Regions from separate parts of the Homo sapiens genome. Here all the other regions are linked to region 3. The links are contacts of gene promoters, found by promoter capture Hi-C in blood cells and fetal thymus (Javierre and others, 2016). All regions are on one chromosome and are shown on one strand. The core of a region is centred on a gene start or on the middle of the fragment in contact, and the rest is flanking DNA. Distances in the headings are between cores, read along the strand shown. Region 1 overlaps IGF2BP2 (insulin like growth factor 2 mRNA binding protein 2). Region 2 overlaps IGF2BP2 (insulin like growth factor 2 mRNA binding protein 2). Region 3 holds the start of IGF2BP2 (insulin like growth factor 2 mRNA binding protein 2).

The links. Contacts are between HindIII fragments. The CHiCAGO score rates a contact against its expected background, and 5 or more counts as called.
Region 1: a fragment that was not itself captured here is called in contact with the fragment with the promoter of IGF2BP2 in region 3 in 1 of 17 cell types (endothelial precursors); the score reaches 9.1 in endothelial precursors.
Region 2: a fragment that was not itself captured here is called in contact with the fragment with the promoter of IGF2BP2 in region 3 in 1 of 17 cell types (endothelial precursors); the score reaches 7.5 in endothelial precursors.

Annotation. Positions count from the first base shown.
Region 1 is chr3:185,669,984-185,673,434 of GRCh38, forward strand. IGF2BP2 (insulin like growth factor 2 mRNA binding protein 2) reads right to left here. Exons shown (of 16, transcript NM_006548.6): 10 at 2,558-2,686. Among named protein-coding and RNA genes, the nearest start is that of IGF2BP2-AS1, 42 kb to the right of the region's middle. The HindIII fragment of the contact is 2,213 bases long and covers 255-2,467 here.
Region 2 is chr3:185,686,404-185,689,832 of GRCh38, forward strand. It overlaps IGF2BP2 (insulin like growth factor 2 mRNA binding protein 2), which reads right to left. Exons shown (of 16, transcript NM_006548.6): 6 at 2,952-3,224; 7 at 654-788. Among named protein-coding and RNA genes, the nearest start is that of IGF2BP2-AS1, 25 kb to the right of the region's middle. RefSeq lists an enhancer at 2,066-3,265 and a silencer at 2,921-3,098. The HindIII fragment of the contact is 1,435 bases long and covers 1,335-2,769 here.
Region 3 is chr3:185,823,021-185,826,864 of GRCh38, forward strand. It overlaps IGF2BP2 (insulin like growth factor 2 mRNA binding protein 2), which reads right to left and starts at 2,022. Exons shown (of 16, transcript NM_006548.6): 1 at 1,763-2,022; 2 at 133-193. The coding sequence starts at 1,940. RefSeq lists an enhancer at 25-888 and silencers at 1,828-2,058, 2,070-2,339, 2,750-2,839. The HindIII fragment of the contact is 1,788 bases long and covers 1,927-3,714 here.

The DNA of each region.
Region 1 (3,451 bases), core at 111-2,610, 150 kb before region 3:
ATTGGACCTGCACTTCTGCAGCTGCATGAAGGAGATGTCTGCAGAAGCCATCATGTCTCAGTCAGTCAGTGTACTGGATTAGAAGCTACTCTAATATTGACCCATGGAATCAAGATCAGAATTACCTGGTTGTTTTTGTTTTGTTTTTAGTTTAACAATTTTTTATTTAAAACCTATTTTACAAATAACAGGAAACACATATTTTAGCAAAATGGTTATTCTACTATTTTAGTAAAAATCTGAGATATAAAGGAAGCTTTCCAACTAGCAAAACCTATTTTCAAGTTTAGAAAATATTCTGCTATTAAAAGAAAAATTCTCTCCTTGTTAAATTTAGTTCAGGGGTCAGCAAACTTTTTCTGCAAAGGAGCAAATCATAAATATTTTAGGCTTTGTGGCTCATGTGATCTGTATGTATCTACTCAGCTCTGCCACTACAGGGGGAAAGCAGGAATAGATAATATGTATATAAACAGCCATGGCTGTGTCCCCTAAAAAACTTTATTAATGAAAATAAATGGTGAGCTAGATTTGGCCCTCAGGTTGTAGCATGCTGACTCCTATATTTGAGATTACCAATTTATTTATTTATTTATTTATTTTGAGACAAAGTCTCACTCTGTTGCCCAGGCTGGAGTGCAGTGCCACGATCTCAGCTCACCGTAACCTCCGCCTCCAGGGTTCAAGTGATTCTCCTTGCCTCAGCCTCCCAAGTAGCTGGGATTACAGGCGTGCACCACCACACCTGGCTAATTCTTGTAGTTTTAGTAGAGACGGGGTTTCACCATGCTGGCTAGGTCAGTCTTGAACTCCTGACCTCAGGAGATCCACCTGCTTCAGCCTCCCAAAGTGCTGGGATTACAGGCGTGAGCCATCATGCCCGGCCTAGATTACCGATTTTAGAATTGGTCTAATTTATTATGCCCTTTTTCTCTCCCCACTTATATTACCTATACTAAGAGGGTAGCCTAACGTTTGAGGTTATCTTCTGTGGGGCTGTATGTACAGCCTCTCTCCCAAGAAATGATGATGTGCCTCAATGCCACTTGGTTGTACCTCATTGGGCCATTCTCAGATCTGACAGCAAAAATACAGAGATGTGAAACTCCCAAGCTATTCTTACTGCTTGGCGCAGCCATGTGACTGACAGCTGCCACAATCCCTCATACTGCATCTTCAGGCTACTCAACACACAAGGCTCAGTGTCAGTCCCCTCCTTCAGTTTAAGGGGAAATGATATAACTAAAGAGGTGGTATGAAGAGATTTAGAAATGACTCAGGGGGCTGGGCGTAGTGGCTCCTGCCTATAATCCCAGCACTTTGGAAGGCCGAGGCAGGCAGATCACGAGGTCAGGAGATGGAGACCATCCTGGCCAACATGGTGAAACCCCTTCTCTACTAAAATTAGCTGGGTGTGGTGATGCATGCCTGTAATCCCAGCTACTTGGGATGCTGAGGCACGAGAATAGCTCGAACCCAGGAGGTGGAGGTTGCAGTGAGACAAGATCGCGCCACTGCACTCCAGCCTGGCGACAGAGCAAGACTCCATCTCAAAAAAAAAAAAAAAAGAAAAAGAAAAAGAAAAGATTCAGAAGAGCCATATATAAGCAAGAATGCAGAATGTGTGCATATATGTGACTCAGCATGTGGGTGCCAGTTTGTGTCTGCATTTTGTTGGCAGGATGGCACAGGGGATTCATCCTGTCTCTCTACAGATAACCCAAAAAGCTACTGGGAATTCACACAATGTGAAGCCTACCCCAGAAAGCACTTCTCAAAAGAACAGAATGGCTGAGGCAATGTTCACCCACCTGATTCTTCCCATTTAAACAGCATAAACATTGGGGGAAAGTTTGCTTTTAAAAATAAGCAGTCTGCGTAGAGAAAAATTAGGAATGAAAAAAAGCTGTCAAGTATCCTGAGCCCCCAATTTGGTAATGTACTGATCTTGAATAATGCTTGTGAATGAAAGCAATAAGTAAAACACTCACAAAATTCACATTTCTTCTTCTGTTGTGAACAAATACTTATTGAGAACTTACTAAATACCAGGCATTGTGCTAAGTGTTTAGACATAAACAATGTATGTAATATTTTCTTTTAAAAATTGCCTATTAATAAGACAATACATTTGACTTGTAAACATAGGTAGAAACTGCACATGTATGTATGTAGATATATATCTCTCTTCAAGAATCATCCAGGTACCCTATATATTTTAATAAATTACCATCACTCATGAAATGTTCTTATTTGAGCTAACAAGTTCTTTTCTATAATAAATTAGCTTCTAGTTGATGAATTTGCTATGAGTTTCTTTCTTTGCTAGTTATGACATACTATATTTAAGAACACGTGTTTAGAGGATTGGTTTAATATTAAGTTGCCCATTAGGAAGAAGTCCTAAGAAATGTTGAGTTCAACCTACATTGGATTCATCTCTACTCGAGCATGGCCTTTAAATGAAAGCTTCCGTTCTGATTCCACACAGCAGAGGCATGCTGCTGCCTGGAGGTGCCCAGCGCATAAGCAAACCTCCACAAGCTGAGCTACTTACAGTGAAGGGGTGGTAGGGGGCAGCGGGGGGAGCTCCGCGGGGCCCTGCTGGTGGAGATAGCACGGACAGTCCTGTTGAAAAGATGCCAAGTGCGCTGAGGTTCAACCCTGGGATCAGATTGGCTTGTTGCTGGGAATAGAAATGGAGAAAAAAGATGAAGGGAGGAGACCAGAGAGGCCCGCACGCCTGGGTCAACCTCCCTCTCTTGTCTTAATGGCACCAGCGTCTCCTAATCAGCTCTGCCCAGGCTCTTCCTACCCTGTATCAGAGGTGGGTGCCACATCTTAACCTGACCATGGTGTTCCTTCAAGGCTTCTCTGCCACACTTGGGCATGTCTACATATCTTGTCATGGAAAATGAGGCTCTTCCTGGGGATGGCAGCCACCTTGCCAGCCTCACTCCTGCTAACCCTTCATCTCCAACCTGGCCAGTCCTGTTTCCTAAATACCTCTGAGCCCCTTCACATGCTATTTATTTCCTAGGCAAGGAAGTGCTTTTCTCCCTTCTCACCTGGCTAAGTCCTACTGACCTGTGGGTTTCACCTGAGCATAGATTACCCCTCATGCAGGAAGCTTTCTTTCATCCCAAAGATCAGCTCAAATGCCCTGTCTGTGCTCTCCAGCATTCCTGTTTCCCTAAGACAGCACTCATTACATGGTATGTGAATAGCCTGTTTAGTTACCTCTTCCCCTTTCAGACTAGAATTTCCTTGCAAACAGAGAATGTCTTACTTAGTGTCGTGTTCTCAGTGCCTGGTATATAGTAAGTACTCAATAAATATTTGTTGAATGACTGTTTAAAACAAATTGGATTAACAGTGTTTTCCAACTCTATCCATGGAGAGATCAGATTCTTCACATGATGTAAATTCCCACATACGTAAACTCCATTAG
Region 2 (3,429 bases), core at 802-3,301, 140 kb before region 3:
GGGGGTAGTGAGGAGGAAGGACAGATAGAAGAAAAAAGTGGAAGAAGAATAAAGCAGCCATGTGTAAACTAGTTTCTACTACTTAAGGAAATGTAATCCAATGTTAAGAGTGCAAACAATTTAGAAGCATGGTGGGAGAAATCTTTTCCAGGACAATAAATGATAGCTTTGGTGACAACATACTTTCTACACTTGCACTGTCCAATTCAATGGGCATTAGCTATACACATGGCTACCAAACTCTGAGTAAAAAAATAAAACACTCAGTTCTTCCACTGTACTAGCCACATTTCAAATACTCAATAGCAACATGTGGCTATTGAACAGTGCAGATATAGAACATTTCTATCATTGCAGAAAGTTCTATTGGACAGCATGAGTCTGTATGTTCCTCCCAATAATTACTATCAATGGGTGATAGAAGCATCAAAATCACCGAGAGACATGCAAGTGAAGAGACAGCCATATGTAAATGCAAAAGATCTACTTCCCACTGTATTCTACTTGGGAACAAATTTCTTAAACACAATCCCTCCCTGCCTCTGTTACTGAGTAACAGATTTGGAGTTTTTAAAAAAAACCTCTTGGGTTAAATGAGGGAGAATCTACTCTTTTTCTCTGTTGAGTGATCTGGGCATTGCATGCAAACTTACAGTTTGGTCTCATCTGCCTCTTTCTGCATGATTTCAAGAATCATGCGGCATGCTTCAGAAGTCCCCTCTGGGGTGGCATGGATGGTGACAGGCTTCTCTGCAGCTCCAGAGTTCTCTTTTCTATGGATATCTACCCTGTAGGAAAAGAATCAGGAGCCATGATTACAAGGTCATCTGGATAGGACCCTAGCCCCAAGAAAGCGTCACACCAACCCATGTACAGCAAGGACACAGACAGACAAGGAGGCGTCATCAGCACGTTTGCAATCAGTGCCATTCTCCAAGAAGGAGGCAAGCAGTGCAGGGGGTCTTGTGCCAAATTTTAATTATTTGCAGCTTCATTTAGAAGGGAACGGTTCTTACAGGAGTGCTGTAGGACAAAGGCACTAAGCCAACTCAGTAATGAAGCCAGTTTGGTAAATGAAGTATTTTGTGTAGTCTTTCAAATGACTGCAGAAGTGAAGAGTAAAGTGAGAAGGATAATACTGCACATTGGCACAGTGCCGGTCTCTGAACTGATTGCAGCTTTTAAAAGCCATATGTTAATCCAAATCCGAACACCAAATTCAAGCAAGCTTTATATATTTGAGTGTGGATAGAAAACAGAGGCATGCCCTCTCTCTGCCTAAGTTTTTGGTTTCCTTTCCATTGGCAGCCTGCCATTAAGACTAATGGCTCAAAAGCTTGATGACTTTATCAGACTTCTTTGGGTAGTTGTGGTCCTACCTGTTTTTGTTAACTTTCAAAATTACATAACTGATTATATCCTTTTTACTTTGGTTGTTAGAAAGCCTAGAGCCAAGTCTTTGGTTGACGTCTAAAAAATGGGCACACACTTTGAGAGCTAACCCCACTTCTATTTAAACTTGTTACATTTTTTTTTCAAGCCACCTTACACAATTTTTGCACAAAAAGACACAAATAAAAGTCACTTTCGCAGTGAACTTGGAGGAAAAGCCAGGGCTGATTTTAAAATAAAAGGATACCAAACAGTAACTTCCCTCTCTATTTCCTCACTTCTAAGATGTGGCACTCCAGACTCATCCATATCAGTGTCTATTATTTGGGGATAAATAAGACATTCTGAAGAAAATAGCATTTCTCTTTCAGGTTACAAGACACCCACTGAATGACCTGAATAAAGTGTACCAGCCCATGTAAATAATTATTATGTGTCAGTAATTGGGTGCTTTGCAATTTAAGTACTTTCATATTAATTATTTCACTCAATCTCCCTGATTGTGCTAATTGTCATAATAATCCTGGCAAAACAGACAGGAACCCTCTATTTATTTATTTATTTAGAGATGGAGTTTCACTCTGTTGCCCAGGCTGGAGTGCAGTGGCGCCATCTCGGCTCACTGCAACCTCCGCCTCCTGGGTTCAAGTGATTCTCCTGCCTCAGCCTCCAGAGTAGCTGGGATTACAGGCGTGAGCCACCACAACTGGCTGATTTTTGTATTTTTAGTAGAGACAGGGTTTCACCATGTTAGCCAGGCTGGTCTCGAACTCCTGACCTCAGATGATCCCCCTGCTTCAGCCTCCCAAAGTGCTGGGATTACAGGGATGAGTCTCTGTAATACAGAGGGTGCCCAGCCAGAACCCTCTTTTTATAGAAGAGGCAACTGATGCTCAGAGAGGTTAACATCTTTTCCAAGATCACAAAACCATTTAAAGTGCTACAACTTGAACGTAAGTCTTTGTTTTCAAGTCCCGAGCTTGCTTTATTACATCATGCTACAGTCTTAGGAAGATACAAAAATCAACAATTCCATAAGACGTTTTATTCACCAACTCTTACAATCAGTTCAGTCTCCTTGAACAGGGAGGAAACTAAACAGAAGGCCAGTGTGCTTTATTTCTTGCTTGACGTGGCAGTGACTCACCCACTTCTTTGTGAGACTACCTATGTTGTCACAAGAATGGCCACCCCCAGGGCTCTGACTCAGGGGAAGAGGAAGAGCTATGATGAGTGGGTTCTAGGATCCCGCAGAGCTCCAAACCTCTGCTTTTGTAGAAATCAATGCATCCATAAGCATTAGTTCGCTTACAGGAACAGTCCTGGCTGTGAGGTTATCAGTACCCTCTTTATGAACTTTTAGCCTCTCAGCATGAAAGCTTGTCACAGCCCCCAGCTTGATGTTAGTCTGTTAGTAGTCCTGTTGAAAGAAGCCACTGTCTCTTACAGCACAGCCCCCCACTGCTGATGTAAGCAATTGTGACCTAAGAGTGGCTGAGACCCACCAGCACGCAGGGGACCCCTCAGAAGGAAGCAAAGGAAGCCCCACAGGCACGTACCGGGACTGGGTCTGCTTAGTGATGTTCTTTATGGTCAAGCCCTCCTTTCCGATGATGGCACCAACAAACTGGGTGGGGACCAGGATCCGCAGCGGGAAATCAATCTGTCTGGCCTGAGAAGTGCCCCCAGGGGCGTGGCCTTGCTCCCGGGAAGAGTGGTCCCCACGCTGGGCTCGCTGAGGGGGCGAAGGGGAGCTCACCTCTTCATCCGGGATGTAGGAAATCTTGAAGGAGTAGTTCTCAAACTGATGCCCGCTTAGCTTCTCCATGGCTCTGAAATGCAGCAGGACAGGGGAGCTTCGTCAGAAACCAACATCAAGAAAGACCCTCCCGGCCGGGCGCGGTGGCTCACGCCTGTAATCCCAGCACTTTGGGAGGCCGAGGCGGGTGGATCACGAGGTCAGGAGATCGAGACCATCCCGGCTAAAACGGTGAAACCCCGTCTCTACTAAAAATACAAAAAATTAGCCGGGCGTAG
Region 3 (3,844 bases), core at 772-3,271:
GTATCTCCACTAACAAAACAAACAAAAGCCCCTTTAAAAACTACCAAGAGCACGTTTTTTAAAGCTGTGTGTACGTTTTTTACTTATACGTAAGGCCAATCGCAAAAAAAAAACTAAGCAAAGTATATTTACCTTAGCTTTTTAGAGACTGAGTAATCAACTTCCATGATTTTCCCATGCAATTCCACTTTACCTTTAAAACAGAAATTAAAGCACTCAGAACCTTGCTTAGATCAAGCCCGCGGGGGTCTAGGGGGGGCACGCACGGAACTCCACGCTCGGGCTCCGCCTTCGGGCGCCCCCAAGGGGTCTCCTACCCGGATCGAGCTGGGCGAACTTGGTTCCCAGTAGAAAGAAAGGTGGGCGCCCCGTGTCTCGGGACAAGGCGAGGAGGGTGCGAGCCCGGGTCGGACCCCAGGTATAGCCGTGGGTGGCATTACCGGAAAAACAAATTTAATAAAGAGCGGCGCCAATTTGAAAGGATGAGCTCATTTGAAACTCAAGCTGCAGGGCTGGCGCGGCCCCGCTGCTCTCCCGGCCCCCACCTCTCCATTCCGCTAATCCGGGGCCCGAAGGCTCCACCGGGCTCCCCTCCCTGCCCTCTCCTCCCGGTGGCCCCGAGAAAACGAGCCGAAGCCCCCCGGAGTCCGCCGCAGCGACAGCCCTGTCCCTGCCCGCTCCTGGGTGTCACCTTGGCCTCGCCGCCGCCCCGCCCCCACTCCACACGCCGGTGGGGAAGGGGCTCCCGCCGGGCCGGGGTTCGGGGGGCGCCGGCCGGGGCCCGGGGGCCCGCGCGGCTGGGAGCGGAGCGTGTGCTGGGGAGAGTTGGGGAGTGCGCGCGCGCGAGTGTGTGTGTGTGTCGCTCTCCGTCTCCTGTCTGGGCTCCAGCGCGCTCGCGGGCCCCCCGGTCGCCTCTTTCCCGGTTCTCAACCCTGGCCCCCACCGAGTTGAGACAGGGCACCTCGTAAAAAGGTGCTTCTGGCCGAGCGGGAGGCGGGGGGACGGGCGGCGGAAAGCCCCCAGCCCCGAGTTCTTCTCAATAAAATCGGACAAAAAATTCAGAGAAAAATAGGAGCGCTTGAGAGAGCAAGCGAGAGGGGACTGAGGTTCGGGAAAGGACCGAGGGGATGTGCCGTCGTGCGAGGGCTGGGGCTGGGGGAGCCCCGAGATCTCGAAGGGGGTCACCAGGGTGGCGCCGAGGGGGTGCCAAAAGTGGGGGGCCGTGGGGCGAGGTGGGGAGGGGGCTCGAAAGGAGAGTGCGGCTCAGGAGACGCCAGAGGGCGAGAGGTTCTGGGCACGAGGCACTGGAAGAGAGAAGGTCCGGCCGGGGGAGGAGGAAGAGACGCTGGATTTGGGGAAGGGGGGACCCTGACAAAGGGGGTGACAGGAAGGTCAGGGGAGAAGTGAGACAGGGGACGCTCAAAGGGTGGGGGGCGGGGAAGCTCAGAGCAGCCCGGGGCGCCAGGCGAACGAGGGGTGCCCCTAAGGAGCCGGCGAGCCTCGGGAGCCTTCGGAGCGGCACGGGGGGCGCCCCAAGGCTGCGGCCCCGAGGGCGAGGGCAGAGTCCAGAGCTGTGGGGGGAGGGGAGCGGGCCGTCCCAGGAGCGGGCCGGCGGCGAGAGTTGAGGGTCTGGTGCGTGGAAGTGAGCGTGCGGGCGCGGGAGCCGCCGCCGGGCGCCGCCCGCCGGACTCGGCCTCCCTCCCGGCGCCGTCCCGGCCTGAGCGGGGCGAGGCGGGGGGAGGGGGCCGCGCTGAGTGCTCACCCGAGAGGGTCTCGATGGCGCGGATGGCCCAGTTCTGGTCGGGGTAGTCCACGAAGGCGTAGCCGGACTTCAGCAGGACCTGTCCCGCCAGGGGCAGCTTCCTGTCCCCAAAGAGCTGCCGGAGGTCGTCGGCGGTGACGGCGGGGCTCAGGTTCCCGATGTAAAGCTTGTTCATCATCCGTCTCTTCCCCGAGAGCCCGCGGCTCCCCCGGCCCGGTACCCGGCGCTCCTCGCCTCCTCCGCTGCCCTCGTCTCTCCTCCTCCTCCGCCCCCCCTCCCCGCCCTCCGCCCGCCCGCCACCCACCCCCACCCTCAGCCTGGCTCCCCCCACCGCGGCCGGCCCGGCCCGCCCGGGGGCAGAGGCGGAGGCGGGGACTCGGCGCGGCTGCCTCCTCGGGGCAGAGTCCCGGGCCGGGCGGCGGCGCGCGGACAAAGCGCTCTCTCTGCCTCCCTCTCTCTCCCTCTCAAGGCGGTGGCGGGAGGAGGAGCAGCGGCGGGCGGCGGCAGCGCACCCCGCGTGTGTCTGTGTGAGAGTTTGTACGGGCGTGTGCGCAGCCGAGAGGGAGCGAGCGAGCGCCCCCTCCCCGCCCCGCGCCGCTGCGCCCCTCGCCTCGCGCCCACCGCGCTCGGCAGTGGCTGCTCGGGCTCCGGCCCCGCGCCAGGCGGGCGGAAGCGGGTCGCGGCCCCGGGCTGGGGCTCCGGGCGCCGGAACCCCGGGCGGGCGCGGCGCCGAGGCCGGGCGAGCGGCGGGGCGGGGAAGGCGCGCCCCGGGCGCGGGTGGGAGCGCGCGAGGGGGCGACGGGGAGCCGCGGGCGTGGGAGGGAGAGGGGCTGCGAGTGAGCGCGGAGAGGGGTGTGCGCAAGGTGGACCGGATGTGAGTGCGCTGCTGCCAGGGCAAGCGGGAAGGTGTGTCCCGGAGGTGAGAGGCGAGGGCAGGCTGGGAGACAACAACTTTCGCAGCGACTTGGCCGGGGCTGGCGCCCTGCGCGTTCCCGGGCCGTGCGCTCGCTCTGAGACCCGCTCCCCGCCACGCTCTCTGAGGTGACCGAGCGGCGCGTGTGGTCGAAGGATCGCGCGCGGGAGTCGGGACGCCTAGGACCGGGGTTGGCCGGGCCCTCGCGGACCGTGCTCGCGGGGAAGTGGTTCCCGGTCCCGGGCCTCAGTTTCCCGACCGGGGAGGGAAGGCGGAAGGCCAGCGCGGAGTCACGTCCTCTCCGCCCAGACCCCGCGTGTCCGGAACCCCGCGGCAGGCGGCAGCCTGACGTTGGCAGCTGCTCTCTATTCTGGGAAGTGCCGAGGGCTTCCCGGGCGGCGGCGGCGAAAGCCAGGTGGCGGGTGGGGAAACGAACGCCGAGGGGCCAGGGACTGCGGCGAGGCCGGAGCGCTGGGGTCAGCGGCCGGGGGACGGATGGTCGCCGCCCGGCTGCGCGGCCGGTTCAGCTCCAAAGCCAGGGTGGTGGGAGGCGAGGGTGGCTGGAAGCGGAGGAGCGCAGGCTGTGTAGGAGTTCCCCGAGCACTGGGAAGGGCCCGGAGAGGAAAGAGGTCCTTCCAAGCGGAGGAAACAACGTGACCGACGGAAGAGGCAGGGTTGGGATGAGAGCAGGCTGGAGCCGAGGGGCTCGGGCAGGAGCCAGACAGGCTAGAGCGGGCTGCAAGTTCCGGGGCCCGGCTGGAAGCCTGATGGTTAGAGCCTGGTCCCAGCCAGGAAATGAAATTCTACAGGAGGGAGAAGAATGGCGGGATTCAGAGGTGAGGAGGCAGAAGAAGATTCCAAGCTCTGGACCTCTGGGGGCCACTGGGAGAGTTGAAGGTTTGATCGCGGATATGTTGGGTTTTGTGAAGGCGTTGGGGCGCGGGTGCGGGGAGTGTCCTTGGGTGGAGAAGTCACGAATGTAGGAATGGAACAAGTTCGGGTCTCCTGACTGGGTCGTGAAGTAGTATTGTCTTTCCCAAGCTTTCCTGTTGATGAGCGGCGTGGAGAGAATGGGGCTTGCTGGATTTTGTATTTTCCGCAAGTACTCCCAGGTGATTCTGGTCTGGTAAACACTGTTGGAGTGGAAGGCCTATCTGCCCCGGACTCAG